3 separate regions of the Homo sapiens genome follow, and regions 1 and 2 are each linked to region 3. Evidence: promoter capture Hi-C in 16 types of primary human blood cells and fetal thymus (Javierre and others, 2016). All regions are on one chromosome and are shown on one strand. Each heading gives the region's core, a stretch centred on a gene start or on the middle of the fragment in contact. The rest is flanking DNA. Distances are from core to core; before and after follow the strand shown.

Evidence for each region. The method cuts DNA at HindIII sites, captures the fragments that hold promoters and counts their contacts. A CHiCAGO score of 5 or more calls a contact.
Region 1: a contact is called between a fragment that was not itself captured here and the fragment with the promoter of PNLDC1 in region 3, in 1 of 17 cell types (total CD8 T cells). The highest score is 5.5, in total CD8 T cells.
Region 2: a fragment that was not itself captured here is called in contact with the fragment with the promoter of PNLDC1 in region 3 in 1 of 17 cell types (neutrophils); the score reaches 5.2 in neutrophils.

The regions. Positions count from the first base shown.
Region 1 is chr6:160,061,755-160,065,633 of GRCh38, forward strand. IGF2R (insulin like growth factor 2 receptor) reads left to right here. Exons shown (of 48, transcript NM_000876.4): 25 at 1-174; 26 at 778-865; 27 at 1,661-1,876; 28 at 2,647-2,777; 29 at 3,050-3,147. Among named protein-coding and RNA genes, the nearest start is that of AIRN, 56 kb to the left of the region's middle. The HindIII fragment of the contact is 190 bases long and covers 1,591-1,780 here.
Region 2 is chr6:160,102,092-160,106,191 of GRCh38, forward strand. IGF2R (insulin like growth factor 2 receptor) reads left to right here. Exons shown (of 48, transcript NM_000876.4): 46 at 428-580; 47 at 1,655-1,724; 48 at 2,583-4,100. The coding sequence ends at 2,993. Among named protein-coding and RNA genes, the nearest start is that of SLC22A1, 18 kb to the right of the region's middle. The HindIII fragment of the contact is 6,206 bases long and covers 1-4,100 here.
Region 3 is chr6:159,797,819-159,802,113 of GRCh38, forward strand. It overlaps PNLDC1 (PARN like ribonuclease domain containing exonuclease 1), which reads left to right and starts at 2,458. Exons shown (of 19, transcript NM_001271862.2): 1 at 2,458-2,565; 2 at 2,954-3,011; 3 at 3,295-3,368. The coding sequence starts at 2,490. MRPL18 (mitochondrial ribosomal protein L18) reads left to right here. Exons shown (of 4, transcript NM_014161.5): 4 at 234-611. The coding sequence ends at 305. The HindIII fragment of the contact is 10,328 bases long and covers 1-4,295 here.

The sequences.
Region 1 (3,879 bases), core at 436-2,935, 260 kb after region 3:
AGCGCAGTGGGGTCTTGCTTAGTGTCAGAAGGCAATAGCTGGAATCTGGGTGTGGTGCAGATGAGTCCCCAAGCCGCGGCGAATGGATCTTTGAGCATCATGTATGTCAACGGTGACAAGTGTGGGAACCAGCGCTTCTCCACCAGGATCACGTTTGAGTGTGCTCAGATATCGGTGTGTGTTCAGACCAGCAATGAGATGTTGTCCCCGGGTGACTCCATTTCCCATTTCCCTTGAACCTCTGAATCTTCTATCTTGTTTAAAACTTGCCTGTGTTTTCGTGGAGTTTCAGCCATTGCTAGGGTTTGACGAGAATGCACTCATTTCTTCAGGTCTTAAATGTTTAATAAATGTTACGTAGTTTGCACATGGAGGTCAAAGATTGGGTACTAACTGTGGCTATCATTTATTTAATTTTTTTTTTTTTTTTTTTTTTTGAGATGGAGTCTTACTCTGTCACCCAGGCTGGAGTGCAGTGGTGCAATCTTGGCTCACTGCAACCTCCGCCCCCCAGGTTCAAGTGATTCTCCTGCCTCAGCCTCCCGAGTAGCTGGGATTACAGGCACCTGCCACCACGCCCAGCTAACTTTTGTATTTTTAGTAGAGACGGGGTTTCACCATCTTGGCCAGGCTGATCTTGAACTCCTGAACTTGTGATCCACCCGTCTCGGCCTCCCAAAGTGCTGAGATTACAGGTGTGAGCCACCGTGCCCGGCCCCATTTGATTAATTTTTAAAATAAACAGGAAACAAATCAGGCTGCTGATTTATATTACAGGGCTCACCAGCATTTCAGCTTCAGGATGGTTGTGAGTACGTGTTTATCTGGAGAACTGTGGAAGCCTGTCCCGTTGTCAGAGTGGAAGGTAGGACTGGGCCTGTCCCTACAAGTCATTTTAAATGTATAGAGTAGCAGACGTTCTGAACGATGCCTTAGATATGAGACCGTGTGATAACAGCCATAGCTGGGGTCATGAGACACACGCTAGGGGGAGGATAATTTCTTTTCCTTGAGCTTTTTTTTTTACTGAAGCATATTGCTAATTTCACGAGTGACATTTTCCTTGTGTGCCTGGATTGATGGGATTTTGGCGTCTGATGCTTGAAGACACTAATGTGGGGTTTGGTTTTGTGTTGTTTGATGAAGCAAGTCTTTATTCGGGGACCTAGACTTTCCTAGAAAGCTGTTTGCCAGGCGATTTGTATTATATATAAACAAAATCATGTGGAAATGGCTTTTAATGCCCATTTATAGCTGGTATTTACCTAACCAAAAATTGTAAAAGTTTTTTTTTTTTTTTTTGAGACCGAGTTTTGCTCTGTTGCCAGGCTGGAGTGTAATGGCGCCATCTCGGCTCACTGCAACCTCTGCCTCTTGGGTTCAAGTGATTCTCCTGCCTCAGCCTCCTGAGTAGCTGGGACTACAGGGTGCCTGCCACCATGCCCAGCTAATTTTTGTATTTTTAGTAGAGACGGGGTTTCACCATGTTGGCCAGGATGGTCTAGATCTCTTGACCTAGTAATCCACCCGCCTCAGCCTCCCAAAGTGCTGGGATTACAGGCGTGAGCCACTGCGCCCGGCCATTTGTAAAGCTTTTTGCTTGAAAATGTGAATGCGTGTGTGGTTGCAGTTGCCCTTCACTTCTTCCATGTTCTTGAAGGGGACAACTGTGAGGTGAAAGACCCAAGGCATGGCAACTTGTATGACCTGAAGCCCCTGGGCCTCAACGACACCATCGTGAGCGCTGGCGAATACACTTATTACTTCCGGGTCTGTGGGAAGCTTTCCTCAGACGTCTGCCCCACAAGTGACAAGTCCAAGGTGGTCTCCTCATGTCAGGAAAAGCGGGAACCGCAGGGATTTCACAAAGTGGCAGGTACCATTGTTTGTCGTTTTCCTTTTGTTGCAAAGGAATGGAATTAAAATATTAAAATATTTTGCTGAAGATGAATTTTCCCTTGAGTCAGAAACATGAGTGTTCTACTGTAAAAAAAAAAAAAAGCATATTAATGATATTTCGGATTTTGCTTGATTTTCTTAAACAGAGTACATACTGAAGGATGTTGGTAGAGCATGTCTATTTTATTCTTAGTTAGCCATGCCAGTTACTGACTCTAAGGTCATATTTCTCTTCTTTATTACAACGTTGGGACACAGTGAGCTAGCCAGTGTTGGATGTTCTGGGGTAGTACTTGATAGCATTGAGTCACAGGGAATGCATTTAGTACGAGGTTTGGCTGTAGAAATTACAGGGCACGCTGTTGGTCATTCATGCTGTTTCAGCAGTTGGGCAAGATTTAAATACATTTAGGAACTTGTAAAAATGAAGTCAAAGTAGCTGGTGGTGAGTACGTGGACAGCCCTCAGGCACAGTGGAGAAAGTGACATTCCCTTAGGTGATGAGGCTAAGGAATGCCTCATGTCATCATACACGGGTCAGTCTGTGACGTTGCAGCAGCCTTGGACAAGGGGAAGCCTGATTTTATTCCCAAAGTGTAATGTGACAGGAGTGCATGGTATGGTGCTGGGAGGCCAGGGATACTTTGTCTCACACTCTTCAGGGTGTGTGGTGTCACATGTCTTAGGCTAAGTTTGACAGCCTAGGGACCCGAACCAAACCTTGTTTAATGTTCTCCTTCTTTACAGGTCTCCTGACTCAGAAGCTAACTTATGAAAATGGCTTGTTAAAAATGAACTTCACGGGGGGGGACACTTGCCATAAGGTTTATCAGCGCTCCACAGCCATCTTCTTCTACTGTGACCGCGGCACCCAGCGGGTGAGCATGTACCGACGGCCCTCAGCGGGGTCTTCTCCCCACCCTCAGGCTGCTGGGATCATATTAGAAAGAATCTGTCCTCAGATCTCATCAAATCTCCTGGTTAACTGAGTTTAAAATAACCATTTACAGAAAATATGTTGAAACTTTCATCAGTTAGTATTGATTTTCATGAACGTAACCATTCTTTACTATTTTCATTCTTAAAACTCAAAGTATAAACTAAAGTTTTGCATTCTCACTTTTATATATGTGCCTCTTAACTTTTTTAGCCAGTATTTCTAAAGGAGACTTCAGATTGTTCCTACTTGTTTGAGTGGCGAACGCAGTATGCCTGCCCACCTTTCGATCTGACTGAATGTTCATTCAAGTAAGTCCATGGATGTGTTGTCTCTTTTGGACAGACTAACTTGGTATGATTTTGCTTTAATAATTAGTGGTCTTGGGTGCAGGGGATTAGATTAGTCAGTTAATTTACCTAGGACTCGGTTTGCTCATATTAAAATGAGGAGTCGGGCTAGGTTAACTCTCAGCTCCGTCACCACCTGGAGCTGCTGTGGTGACTGCATGGGGAAGGGATTGGAGCTGAAGCAGAGAGTGGACCCCTGGCACTCTTGCGTGATCCACATGTCAGTGAGCAGAGTGGGCCAGGAGCGGTGTGGTGACCCCTGCGATGAAGGGAGGTCTTCGTTGCATGTGATCGTCCACAGAGCTGCTCTCAACAGCTTTGCCAGATCGCCCTCTGGACACCTGGGGTCCCATCCTTAGAGATTTTGGTTTTGTGGGTCTGCGGTTCTGTTTTTTGGAGGGATGCCCTGTGTTCTGCCGTGTGAAACACCCAGTATGAGCCACTTGATCACTGTTGACTTTCCTGGGGGAAAGTGCAGGTGATTCTGTTTCCTTCCGGCCTTTGTCCTGTTGTGTCATCGGTTATTTATGTAGGTGAAATCATCATTTAAGTTTTAGGAACGTATGTAAATGCAAGCATTTAGTAATTTATGTTCAGTGACTTTAAATCATAATTTTAGTAACCTTACCTTTTCCAGTTAACATTTTGTAAATATTTTCATGTGAAACAAATTTGTTTCTCATTTCTACTGGA
Region 2 (4,100 bases), core at 418-2,917, 300 kb after region 3:
TGGGCTGCGCTCACTGCTTCCAGAAGAAATTCTGAGAGGAAAGAGCTCTGACCCTGGAGAGAAGTGTGGTGCTTCGGGACAGCCTCTGCCCCAGCCTAGTCCTGCCGTGGATTGGGCCACCTAGAGGGGGCCGCGTCCCTCCTGCCTGTCTCCTCTGTGTTTGGGTGAATGATAGTTCATGGAGCTGGAAGCAGTGCCTTCTTGTCTGCTTTCTGACAACCCTGCCACAAACTCATCATCAGGAACTTTTTGCAGCCCTCTTCCATGTGGAGTGGGACTTGTGGCCTTGTTTTCTGGGCAGGAGTAAGAATCACATGGTGTTGGGAAAGTCAGAGCTGCTCTTGCCTTGGGGACTCAGGTCTCAGGTTGTGGCTGTGGCAGCAGGACCACCCTGTGACACGGCTCCTTTTCTGTGACGTCCTTGCAGGGTGGGCTTTGACAGCGAGAATCCCGGGGACGACGGGCAGATGCACAAGGGGCTGTCAGAACGGAGCCAGGCAGTCGGCGCGGTGCTCAGCCTGCTGCTGGTGGCGCTCACCTGCTGCCTGCTGGCCCTGTTGCTCTACAAGAAGGAGAGGAGGTAAGCGGGTGGCAGGGCGAGGTGGGGCGGGTGGATGCATGCCTCCCATAGCTAATCTTGGGGTCAGTTTTGTGGGGTTTTATTTATTTGTTTTTAAGCCCTACAGCAGCGAAGGCTCGAGGTTCTTAGTCCAAAACTCTCTGGAAGCAGTCCCCAGCGTTGTGGTTTTTAAATGCCTGCATTTCTGTCTGACCAAGGCCGAGGCCCTCGCACATCACCCGTGCCTGCGGCTTCTAGGACCGTGGTCCTTTGTGTCCAAAGATGAGTAGAACATTAAACGGCACCTTTCATGGGTGCCTTTTCCCACTGAGCAGCTGACCCCTCTGCCCTCCTCACATCATAAATGCAGGAGTTTATTAAGCGCCTGCTATGTACCAGGTATGATGCCATCCTTTTGCGCCACTTTGCTGGGTGAAAGGACTCTCCATGTGACGGTCAAGCAGATTTTCACGTCAGGCGTCAGTGTTAGTGGCTCTGACCTGGGGGCAGGAGCTGGCCAGCTCAGGCGTTCCCTGCTGCCACTGTCATTTGCCAGCTGAGCCACAGGCCAATGAGAGAGGTGGTCAGAAAGTACCAACCATGGAGGTTGCAGTGAGCCAAGATCTCACCACTGCACTCTAGCCTGGGCAACACAGTGAGACTCTGTCCAAAAAAAAAAAAAAAGTACCGATTGTGGCCCTCTACACCCAAAATGCAGAATGGGGCAGAAGAAGGTCTGGGCCGGGAAGGGCATGTGATGTCTGTCTCTGCGAGCCACCATTGGGCAGGCTTAGTGGCGACGGACTGGTGTGGTCCTGTTAGTCATGTGAAAAAGTCCTTGCCCTAATGTTAAGTTGCTCTAGAGGGCCCTCTGCTGTTGGATTCCAAAGCCCATCTTCTTTCCACTCAATCACAACAAATACATTAGGGTATATATAACCTGTCACGGCTACTCATTTGTCATTCAGAATGTGGGAGAAATGCAGCCACCACCAGCCCCCTGGTGGTGCAGATGGGGGTGGGGCTGGCGGGGGTGGGGCTCCTGCCCATGCCCTCTCTACACTGGAGTAATTATTGTCTCCTTTTTTTTTATAGGGAAACAGTGATAAGTAAGCTGACCACTTGCTGTAGGAGAAGTTCCAACGTGTCCTACAAATACTCAAAGGTAATTTTCTGTGGCGAGTCTCTTGAAGGCCTGCCTCCCCGGCCCCCTGTGCTGCGCTGTCCATGTCGTTCTCATCAGGGGTGCCAAGGAAAGCAGTCACAGGCTGACTGGAATCCAGAAAGGAAAGCAACACCCGTTGCCTCAGCCACTTACGCCAGCACATTTTTTTGTTATTTTTTTCCCTCAAGTTTCTCTCGTGGTTACAACTGATTTCCTTGAAGTATTTAATAATTAGGTTGTTTCCACTGTTTTTGGCTGTTCTTTAAAAAAAAAACAAAACACACACACACACAGTAGTGAAGATAGTTGTGCATGTAGCATTTGGATGATTTCTTTCAGGTAAATTTGCAGAAAAGAGGCATTATCTGGATCAAAGGACATAATGTTTGTGGTCTCGATGGGTAATGATGAATTGCTCTCTAAAACTAGGCTTTTGACTGGAGTCCCTCCTTTGACATTCCTCCCCTGCCATGCAGTGGGCACCTTTCAGTCTATGAGTAGCCCGGAAGAGCCCCTTCTCCCCCAGCTGCGCTGGGGGATCACTGGTCTGCTTTTCGGTCCAGGCCATCCCGAACGCCTTCTGCTTGGTCCCACCCTTGGCTGTGAGACTCCTGCCAAATGACCCCACTGCCACCCTCCCAAACCCTCCTGCCTTGGTGCAGTCTCATTAGGAACAGGAAGGTGTTGCCAGCCCTCGTCTTCCTTTCCCTGGGAACTGGAGATGCAGTGACTGTGAGGACAGTGGGCCAGTTCTTCCCCAGCTCGTGCCAGCAGAGAGCATCCCTGATGTGGTGGATGGTGGAGCAGAATGGGGTCTCTTAGGGGGCTCACGTGGTCTCTGCTGTTGATCCCTGGCAGGTGAATAAGGAAGAAGAGACAGATGAGAATGAAACAGAGTGGCTGATGGAAGAGATCCAGCTGCCTCCTCCACGGCAGGGAAAGGAAGGGCAGGAGAACGGCCATATTACCACCAAGTCAGTGAAAGCCCTCAGCTCCCTGCATGGGGATGACCAGGACAGTGAGGATGAGGTTCTGACCATCCCAGAGGTGAAAGTTCACTCGGGCAGGGGAGCTGGGGCAGAGAGCTCCCACCCAGTGAGAAACGCACAGAGCAATGCCCTTCAGGAGCGTGAGGACGATAGGGTGGGGCTGGTCAGGGGTGAGAAGGCGAGGAAAGGGAAGTCCAGCTCTGCACAGCAGAAGACAGTGAGCTCCACCAAGCTGGTGTCCTTCCATGACGACAGCGACGAGGACCTCTTACACATCTGACTCCGCAGTGCCTGCAGGGGAGCACGGAGCCGCGGGACAGCCAAGCACCTCCAACCAAATAAGACTTCCACTCGATGATGCTTCTATAATTTTGCCTTTAACAGAAACTTTCAAAAGGGAAGAGTTTTTGTGATGGGGGAGAGGGTGAAGGAGGTCAGGCCCCACTCCTTCCTGATTGTTTACAGTCATTGGAATAAGGCATGGCTCAGATCGGCCACAGGGCGGTACCTTGTGCCCAGGGTTTTGCCCCAAGTCCTCATTTAAAAGCATAAGGCCGGACGCATCTCAAAACAGAGGGCTGCATTCGAAGAAACCCTTGCTGCTTTAGTCCCGATAGGGTATTTGACCCCGATATATTTTAGCATTTTAATTCTCTCCCCCTATTTATTGACTTTGACAATTACTCAGGTTTGAGAAAAAGGAAAAAAAAACAGCCACCGTTTCTTCCTGCCAGCAGGGGTGTGATGTACCAGTTTGTCCATCTTGAGATGGTGAGGCTGTCAGTGTATGGGGCAGCTTCCGGCGGGATGTTGAACTGGTCATTAATGTGTCCCCTGAGTTGGAGCTCATTCTGTCTCTTTTCTCTTTTGCTTTCTGTTTCTTAAGGGCACACACACGTGCGTGCGAGCACACACACACATACGTGCACAGGGTCCCCGAGTGCCTAGGTTTTGGAGAGTTTGCCTGTTCTATGCCTTTAGTCAGGAATGGCTGCACCTTTTTGCATGATATCTTCAAGCCTGGGCGTACAGAGCACATTTGTCAGTATTTTTGCCGGCTGGTGAATTCAAACAACCTGCCCAAAGATTGATTTGTGTGTTTGTGTGTGTGTGTGTGTGTGTGTGTGTGTGTGTGAGTGGAGTTGAGGTGTCAGAGAAAATGAATTTTTTCCAGATTTGGGGTATAGGTCTCATCTCTTCAGGTTCTCATGATACCACCTTTACTGTGCTTATTTTTTTAAGAAAAAAGTGTTGATCAACCATTCGACCTATAAGAAGCCTTAATTTGCACAGTGTGTGACTTACAGAAACTGCATGAAAAATCATGGGCCAGAGCCTCGGCCCTAGCATTGCACTTGGCCTCATGCTGGAGGGAGGCTGGGCGGGT
Region 3 (4,295 bases), core at 1,208-3,707:
ATATATTGACATCTTGTCCATATAATATTTTGAAATGCTGCTGAACCTTGACATCTCTACATTTCCTTTTTACTTACATCATTATTAAGATCACTTTCTGAAAAACCGTTGTAGGCTGGGAAGTTAGCAAGAACAAATCAATTTATTTCTGTCTTTTGGAAGGTGAAAGTATTTTCAGCCTACTCGTGCTGCTGACTTAATCTTTTCCTTTTTTTTCTGATTTTCAAAACCAGATGAAACGACTACAAAGTGCCATGACAGAAGGTGGTGTGGTTCTACGGGAACCTCAGAGAATCTATGAATAAATGGAAGCATTAATTGTTTTGAACATGTAAATATAAATCTGTCAGCCACTACAGCCATCAAAAGAGAGCATCTGGAAGAACAGCCAGCTTGGAAGTTTTACAGCAATAATGTTGCAGTGGAATATTATTTGTAGTTAAGGTCATCCTCCTCCCCTTTCTGTTTTTTTAAATCAAGAACTACGTTCTGCCCCTCTCTTGGGCTTCAGAAGCATCTAAGAAAAGCAGTCATCAATTATAATTAACTTTCAAAGGGCAAGTCAGAAGTTGTTTATAAATTACAAAATAAAGGCATATTATGAACTCTTATTTTCTGGTTATATGACATTGTCTGAGCTCACTGTGGCAGTGGAGCACATATGAGGTTGATGTAAAGCACTTATTACTGTGTCTAGTTCATGGCGAGTGATCTCAGTGAATGACAGTTGTTTGCTGCTCGGAGTGTGGGTTGTTTTTTAAAATAGGAAATGTCAGTATCAATCTAATACTATAGAACAGTCAGTATGTGAAAATGAAAGGACCAAATGCCAACCTCACTTGGACTCTTGGTTCCCAACAGTAAGAGAAACAAATTTGAAAGAGGAAGGAGGTGGCATCAGGAGCTGAAAGCAGAGGTGGAAATGGTTGGGGTTAGTGGGCGCTCAATTTGCCATGAAGTGAACATTTTATTAGATAGGAGATGAAACTTGAAATGCATGCAAGTTAATCTAAAATTTGAGCTTGGGTAGATGGGAATCATGGCAGTTCTCTGAAAGGAGCTGATTAAGGTGTTAATTTTTGGCTATTTGATAAATGTGAGAAAAAACCTGTAGGCAGTTAAGGTGGCTTCTAGAGCATTGTTTTCCAGTTTTTTTAATGTATACCCCAATTAAATGTTTGTTTAGAAGTGAAATATGTTACTTCTGCCAATTTGAGTATTCAATGTGTTATTTTAAATGGAACACATCTGTATGAAGTATGATTTGTTCTGAGAGGTCTTCAGAATCAAATGGCTTAATAGTCCCCTTTTGCTTAATTAATGTCCCGGAGAGGCATTTAAAAGTATAATTGAAGATCGGATGCAGTGCCTCACACCTCTAATCCCACCACTTTAGGAGGCTGAAGCAGGTGGATCACTTGAGGCCAGGAATTCGAGACCAGCCTGGCCAATACGGTTTAACCCTATCTCTACTAAAAACAAAAATGAGTTGGGCGTGGTGGTGCATGCCTGTAATCCCAGCTGTTCAGAGGCTGAGGCGGGAGAATCGCTTGAACTCAGGAGGTGGAGATTGCAGAGAGCCGAGATGGCACCACTGCACTCCAGCCTGGGTGACAGAGTGAGACTGTCTCAAAAGGAAAAAATAAAGTATAACGGTAATGTTTTCTCCGCTAACCTTAAAGATTGATTTGAGCACCTCACTTTGAGGACCATAGTTCCAAAACGCTGTTCAAGTAGAAGCCTAGAATTCAAGGGAGGACACTGTAAGGAAGACCATGGACTAGTTGCACTGGAAACAGTAACAAAAGTAAAAATTAAGCTCACATGTATGTGATGATGTAGGTAGGGATTTCCGCAAGGAGTGAGTGCACGAGATAATCCCTGGGGACCAAGGATTCCTTCAATTTAATGGGCAGTTCTTGAGGCTTTGCAAAGTTTGATTGCAGGTGTGAAGACAGTGGTAAGGTGGACAGCAGAATGAGGAAAAAGATGTCCAGGGGCGTGGGAGAGGGAATGGGGACAGACATACTGGCAGTGATGGAGAAGTTGGGAAGAGGTGATTTAGAAGACCGTGAGCCGCAGCAAAGGATCTGCTTATTGCAGTTGCGTCCGGTGTTGTTCCTGCTCCGCTTTTCTGATTTCACCCTTTCTGGACTCTGTCTTCGTCTCCTGCCACGCCTCTTAACATTCTAAGTCCATGTAAATGACATTCTCACGTTAAGGGCTGCAAAGAAATTGCTGAGGAGCCAGGTAAACAGGCTTTGATTGCAATTGCAATCAAACCTCTGTAGCAAATCGTACAATTAAAACACCCGCAGGCAGGTGTGGGCGACGCCAGCAGCACACGGGGAAGCTGGGCACGTGGGGCGGAGGCAGCTGCCTGGTTTCCATGTGTGCGCCCTTTAAGACCCGGCGGCGCGACGGAAGCGCGTGGGCAGCACGTGGGCAGCACGTGATAGCGCTGGGCGACTCCGCGGAGCTGCACGGCCATGGACGTGGGCGCCGACGAGTTCGAGGAGAGCCTCCCTCTGCTGCAGGAGCTCGTCCAGGAGGCCGACTTCGTGGGTGAAGAGCCTGGGATTCGCGGCTGTGCCGGACAGAGCCCCTTGCCCCGGGCGAGCTTGAGGAGGGGGTGGCGGGACGGTTGCCAGGCCACAGGGCCTCAGAGAGGGCCTCGGGAAGGACAGGGGGGCTTCCTTCTCCAGCCCCGGGGCGGTGGGACTTTGAGCAGCAAGTACACTCCGAGCCCCACGTCCCTTGTTGGCCAGAGCCCCGTGCGCCCAGGTGCCTGGCTGCTCCTTGCCTTGGTTCCTCCATTTTCCCTTCCTGACCTCACTTGGCTTCTTGAGCGCAGAGGTGAGCGCGGGTGCCTTGGCCGCCTGCAGATCTACAGTGTGAGGAGTGCTGGCGATGTTCTGCACCCGAGGACTGCTATTTTTTGCCTTCCTGGCAGGTCTGGACATAGAGTTCACGGGCCTTCGTTCTAACCTGTCTGGGCCCCAGCAGATCAGGTAAAACTAAAGCTGTGTCCCCTCTGTATAAGAGCCTGGCCAGACCAGCACTGTTTCTGGCCAGCAGCCTGTTGGCATTTGGGGGGCAGGACGTTTTGTGTGGCTTGCTCCTACGTGTTGGAGGACCTTGCTTTTTTCTGTCCACTAAATGATGGTAGTGCTCCCTAGTTGTTGTAACAAGGAAAAAATCCTCCCCGGTTGCGAGTGGTGGTCCTGCCGCGGAGGCCATAGTGCCGGGATGGGATGTCATTGCTCGTGGAATGAGATGCCTGTTTGTTCACAGTCTTTTTGATTTGCCATCGGAGTGGTATCTAAAGACCCGTCAGAGTGTTCAGCAATTTACAGTCTGTCAGATTGGTGAGTTTAATATCAGCTGTTAGAGTTTTTCAAGAAGGTATTTTTATTGTCCTTGGATTTCCTACTGTAAAAACAGCTCTGAGATTTTTCAAGGATATTGAGTATCGTTTTGTATGCTTGTTTTGTGTTGGGCCATTGTATACATATGGAAATCAACACTTCGGAGCAAACCAAATTTAGCAGCATTGTTTCCGTGCTTAAATAAGTCAGTATTAAGGAACACTCACTGTTACTCTTTCAAGTAAAACTGTGTGTGTGCGATTTTTATTTTATTTTTTGAGACAGGGTCTTGCTCTGTCACCAAGACTGGAGTGCAGTAGCATAGTCTTAGCTCACTGCAGCCTAGACTTCCTGGGCTCAAGTGATACTAGCACGTCAGCCTCCTGAGTAAACTGGGACTACAGGCTCACCACCACACCTAGCTAATTTTTAAATTTTTTGTTCAGATGGGTTTTCGTCATGTTGGCCAGGCTGTTCTTGACTTCCTGGGCTCGAGCAATCTTTCTGCCTCTGCCTCTCAAAGTGATGGAATTATAAGCGTGAGCAACCACACCTGGCCTGTGATTTTTTTTTCTTAAGAAAATTTACACACAAAAATAATTTTTTTTAAGGTCATCTCAGTTTCAGAAACTTTTTTTTTTTCCTTGATGGGATTTGGAGATCTTTCTGTATCGGTTCATACAGATCTATTTGTTGATTTAGTTATTAGTTTATTTTCTGAGATGGAGTCTCGCTCTGTTGCCCAGGCTGGAGTGCAGTAGCGCGATGTGGGCTCACCGCAACCTCCACCACCCAGGTTCGGGTGATTCTCCTGCCTCAGCCTCCAGAGCAGCTGGGATTACAGGCAATTGCCACCAGGCCTGGCTAATTTTTGTATTTTTAGTAGCGATGGGGTTTCACCATGTTGGCCAGGCTGGTCAAGACAGA